Regions from separate parts of the Homo sapiens genome. Here region 2 is linked to region 1. The links are contacts of gene promoters, found by promoter capture Hi-C in blood cells and fetal thymus (Javierre and others, 2016). All regions are on one chromosome and are shown on one strand. The core of a region is centred on a gene start or on the middle of the fragment in contact, and the rest is flanking DNA. Distances in the headings are between cores, read along the strand shown.

The links. Contacts are between HindIII fragments. The CHiCAGO score rates a contact against its expected background, and 5 or more counts as called.
Region 2: a contact is called between a fragment that was not itself captured here and the fragment with the promoter of U2SURP in region 1, in 1 of 17 cell types (total CD4 T cells). The highest score is 6.2, in total CD4 T cells.

The regions. Positions count from the first base shown.
Region 1 is chr3:143,000,148-143,002,877 of GRCh38, reverse strand. U2SURP (U2 snRNP associated SURP domain containing) reads right to left here and starts at 1,308. Exons shown (of 28, transcript NM_001080415.2): 1 at 1,205-1,308. The coding sequence starts at 1,249. PAQR9-AS1 (PAQR9 antisense RNA 1) reads right to left here. Exons shown (of 5, transcript NR_125393.1): 5 at 1,788-1,851. It overlaps LOC100289361 (a long non-coding RNA gene), which reads left to right and starts at 1,411. Exons shown (of 1, transcript NR_034032.1): 1 at 1,411-2,033. RefSeq lists enhancers at 947-1,596, 871-1,870. The HindIII fragment of the contact is 1,896 bases long and covers 190-2,085 here.
Region 2 is chr3:139,348,839-139,351,568 of GRCh38, reverse strand. MRPS22 (mitochondrial ribosomal protein S22) reads right to left here. Exons shown (of 8, transcript NM_020191.4): 4 at 1,247-1,390; 5 at 509-592. Among named protein-coding and RNA genes, the nearest start is that of MRPS22, 6.2 kb to the right of the region's middle. The HindIII fragment of the contact is 2,342 bases long and covers 310-2,651 here.

The sequences.
Region 1 (2,730 bases), core at 59-2,558:
CTTGTAAAGAAGCCGAAACTGGCCCCTCACCAAAGTTTCTATGTAACTAAACGATGTCTGTTAAGACCATTACTAATTATGAATTAATTATTTTGGTGTACATCGTTCACCAAATGGCATAAACAGTCGGATTAGAGAAAGCAAGTAGAAAACGAGTTATGATGTTTCTCAGAACTGTAAACGCAAGCTTCTCTCCTACCGTAAATTTAACTTTCTAATAGCCGATTTACAGTCACACACTCTTTAAGATTTAACAGTCCCTAGCACCTGAAAGTGTTACACAGCTTCTTGCATCAGCATCGGAAAGTTTAACTACCTCGTGGCAGTACCAATTACTTTTAATATATTCGAGACCAGAAACCCAAACCAAAAAACGATTAAATGTCCCGCCCAAGATGGCAACTAAGAACCCAACCGTACTAATGCTTAACTACTACCACAGCTCACTGGTTTCACAATACGTGCCCAGGGTTCCCTGTAAACACAAATGCAATTTACTAATCGTATGTAGCTTACAAGTCTACGGAGCTTCTCTTTTCACTGTTTCTTCAACATAAAGAAAGAGACCACGAGTCCTCTACCCTCAAAAGTGCTTTTTACTTCCCGTTAAGGTAAAGACCACGTGTAGACTGTACATTAACCTTGGCTATGCAGCACTGCAAAGGAGAGCTGCTCCCGCCTCTGCATTTCCCACTCCGTGTCTTTGCCCTAGTGGTCCTCCCCTCACAGCTGGCGACCCTAGAGGTTATTCATTCCTTGGAGGGAAACTGAGGGAGGCCGGAAGTGAGTGAGATCCAAAACCGAGAAAAAAGCAGCAGACATTTAAGCACCGGGAAGCGATTCCCGCCTCTCTCCCAGGCGCTGTCTGGCGGCCTCAGGGCGCAGGAAGCTGAGATACAGGAGAGCGTTTTCACTGCTTCAGACCTCAATCTGAATTCCTGATTTCACTCCAATGCCAAGCGCGGGCCGAAGCACTCACGCCTCCACCCACTGGGCACGCCAGTCTCGAGCTGAATCCCGGCTGGGACTATGGGGAGATACCAGGCCTCTCAACCTGCGCACAACGGTGCGGCGGCGCCCGGGCCTACCGTCGCGACTAGAATGCAGACCCCAATCCCAATCGCCTCTCACAGGCCAGAAGCGTCTGTGGGCCCCAAACGACAGTGGTAGATCCGCTGACTTACGAAATTTTGTCAGAAATTACCTTTGAACTGGCCTTCTGAGATCCGCCTGGCGTTTTGTCCGCCATCTTGAGCTTTGCCCCTCCTTCGGCGGCGGCAGCAGCACGGGCGAGTCGAGCACCGAAAGAGCGGATCTCAGTGAAGCCCGCCAGAGGCGCCTGCAAGGCTGAATAGTCGACTGTCGAGATAGCGACCTTAGGGGCAGCCGCTCACGTGACTTCCGGTGTCAGTAATTTCCTCAGCCGCGCTCACTCCGCTAGTTTTCCTGGGAGTCACGGTGCTTGGTCGCGTTATTGGGTCCGGGAATTCAGAGAATCAGGGCCAGCTGATACTTCACCCTCTTATCCCAACGCCAACCCTTGATAGATGCGAACCAGTCGTATTTCCTTTGTGGGAAAGGAGTCGCTTTTTAAAGACGTGCACTGGCCATCTAGGGAGGAGCTTTTACTTCAACTCAAAATAGGACTGGAGCTGACTGGTGACCTGGCGCTCGATGGACGGAAACGCTGTTCTTGCCGCTTCGGCAGCTCCCATACTGGTGGGAGAGGCAAACTTGCAGTCTGCTCATCTTAAGATGGTGAATGTTGAGATAGGGTTGCTCCCGAAAAGCCGAGAAGAGGAGCCGTTTGACCCAACTTGAGGGTGATCCGATAGACACTCTTTAGGGCGTCTGCAGAGTGGGTGCGCGTGGAGACAGTCAATAAGAGAAAATCGTAAATACAGATGGTATTCTAAATCTAGCATGCATGTAAAGTTGTGTGACATTTTAAAGATTACATTTTACACTTTAGTATTGTTTTCATTTTTAATCACATAAATGGGGGAACACCATATTAAACTTTTCTGAACTTAGTACTTTTTTAAAAAGTTCTTAATCAGGGCCTAGATTCAAAGACGGAAAGCTTGCTTGAGAAGGCCATGCCCGAATCAGGCCAGGCAAGGAAAGAAAGGACATTCCAGACAGAGGGAGTAATTGAGGTAAAAGCCTGTGGCATGAATCAGTACAGCCGATCGTGCAGGTCACCTAAAGCAGTCGTTTTATTAGACCAGGTGTGGGGAGGGACGTGGTTGGACAGGGGTGCGGGTGCAGGTTCACACAGCGCCCTGAGGTCACCATCGTGCTTAGGAGTTAGAATTCTGTTCTCAGAATGAAGATCGGCCTTTAACAAGGTTGAAATGGTCAGATTTTTATTTTAAAGTATTGCTCTGAGGACTAGGGTGGGAGTGGAGGGCGTTTGTGGACCTCTCCCTAAATCATTTATTCAAAATATTTTTGAGCCCCGTTTTGTGTGTAAAAGCCTGCCCAAAGTGTTGTAGGGCTTACAGAGACAGACAAACATGCACTGTCTTCATATGATTTAAAACTTAATGAGAAATGGAGGAGACAAGGAAACCGCAAACTGACACTATGCATAATTAAATTGATGCTGCAAGGAAGGATCAATAGCTGAGGGACCTCTGAAAGAAGTAATTAATTCTGAGAGTAGGAGTGAGGAAAAGAGACGGGGCGGGGCAGGGGGGGGGGTGGTCATAGAGAAGAAAGCATTTG
Region 2 (2,730 bases), core at 231-2,730, 3.7 Mb after region 1:
ATTATTTGTATACTTACTAGCACCTTTCCCCACAGCCATATCCGGACTGCTGGCTTTGGCACAGCATACTCTATCCTAGTTCGTGGCATCACCTATACTACCCAAGATAATACCTTACACATAGAAGGTACTAATGAATACTTACTGAGCTGTAAGACAAACACACTGTACTTCAGCAAAATTTTAGTAAATAATTTGATTCCTATACGGTAAACTGAAAAGAGAATAGGCTTTGTCATCAAACTTGGGTCCTAACCCTACCACTTAGTAGCTATGCAACTTTCAGCAAGCTACTTAATTCTACAAGCTTAAATTCCCTCATCTTTAATCAAGGGTTGTTGTGATTATAAAATATATATCTGGCACACAACTGTACTCAATAGATTTTCAGGTATTTCTCTTCCCTTTCCCCTGTATCAAAACTTACAACGAAATTCATTGAGCTAGATTAAAAATCTTACTCATAACCATACTTAAGCCTATATTTTAGAAACTAAAATCTACTCACCTTGATATACTCTGTGGAATCTGGCTCAAACTGGGCAAAGCAGAGATTGAGGACATCAACATGCCTGTCCTGGCTATACATAGTCTAAAACCACACAGCAGAGTTAGCATCACATGAGAACACTGAAGTTCAGCACCTGTCCTGATGTCATGACAGGCCTGCCCACCCACATACTGGCCACTCTGTGCTCCTCAAGAAGCATAAAGAAAGAACACAGGCTTTGTAATTGTCACACCTAGATTCAAATTCCAGCTAAGCCAATTATGAGAGAACCCTAGTACAACCCATCTTGGGTGGTAAGGAGGATTCTATTAAGAAAGAAGTCGGCCAGGCATGGTGGCTCACGCCTGTAATCCCAGCACTTTGGGAGTCGGATTGCGGGGGGGGGGTGCGAATCCCGAGGTCAGGAGTTCAAGACCAGCCTGGCCAACATGGTGAAACCCCATCTCTACTAAAAATACAAAAATTAGCCAAGCGTGGTGGCGGGCGCCTGTAATCCCAGCTACTCATGAGGCTGAGGCAGAAGAATCACTTGAAACCAGAAGGTGGAGGTTGCAGTGAGCTGAGATCCCGCCACTGCACTTCAGCCTGGGCAAAAGGAGCGAAACTCCATTTCAAAAAAAAAAAAAAGTCAAGTTATCATTAGAAATGTTTATCTGGATCAAGGCACAAAGCCAACTGGTTCTACAAATAAATCATCACCACTGGCTCTAAAACATAAAACCTAAGTCACCTTACCCTAAGATTTTCTTCCTTGAAAATTATTGGTGTCAAAATTTTACGACCTTCTTTTGGGAAATAAACTTGTATCATTCGGTCCCGTTCTTCCCAAGAGGCTTTGCGTAGTGTGCCACTTGGTTCTCTGACGACAATAAAACGCTCCTAAAATAGAAAAACATAATCAAGGATGCGTTTGTGAGGACGTATTTTTAGTTCCTGTGTCCCACTAAGGCCATTATAAGAATAATTTGCAATCAACAATATAAAATGCAATCATGCATATGAGATCAATGATAATTTTAAACCTCAAAGACTTGGCAAGGTTTGATATTTCCTTCACTAATCACTGCTGTGCATCTGACAATCAGAAATCTAAAATGAAAGTATTCAGTAAGTACCAACTATGGTGCTAACGTGAGTTCGATACGAAAAAAGCTGAGATTCATCTATATCCATTTTAGAGGAAAGAAGTGCTATGACCTTTCCAAACTTTCATTTCTCTATCCCAAAGTCTCATCTAAACAGATTTTACTACTTTATGATCTATGTTTAAAGTCCTTGGGATAAAAAGAACAAACCCAAGAATGAGGAGTCTTACTTCTACACTTTTATGATTTCTTATATTGGCATTAGACATAAACATGTCTGAGAGGCTGTCTGGTCCAACTGTCTCTGGTCACTTCGATCTTCCAACTGCCAACTCCCAGGCCATGGGATCACTTCCTCCTCTAAATTCTACCTACTTTTTATACCATTCAACTGGAAATTTACCCCACACAAGATTTTTGGCATCCCTCAGATATTGTTATATAACTGGAAAAGGGCAGGAAATGTGGATTATAATTTTTTGCAATACCGGGAGTGGCATACATGGAGCTTTGCACATTGCTGATAATTGATACACACCTGATTAATGTATAAATTAACCAAACAGTACTGACTCTCAAGTTTTCAGAGGTGTAGGAGTCTCTAAATGTGTTCTGAAGATAACATAGATGAAACTTCCATCAACACTGCCAATCGAAAAAAAAAAAGCACATGCCAACATAATACAATTTTTCCTCAGAAGGATTTTGGTAATTTGAGAAACCTGAATTCCAAGTTCCTTTCTCCTTTTCAAGTTACAAAATGCTTCCCAACCAACATGCACAGCACTGCAAACATATATTAAAGCATCACAAAACAAAAACTGTAATTAAAATTGAAACTCTGTGACTCATGTTCATTATGTCAAATATACAGATGGCTGGTGTTGAACATAGCTCAAATCGTTTTCTAACCATAATCATGTATAATAAAAGATTAATATGGAGTGAACCTTCTCCTAAACTCAGCATTCTATAGTGTTCTAACGTATTCTGTGGGCTGAATTGTAAACTATTCTCTTTTTATTCTTTACTTGCAAAGGCTCAAATACAAAGCTTACATATTTCTAAAATGCCAGAGTGTTCTTTTAAATTTGCAATCAAGTAAAGAGGAGCCAGAGAATAACAATCACAACA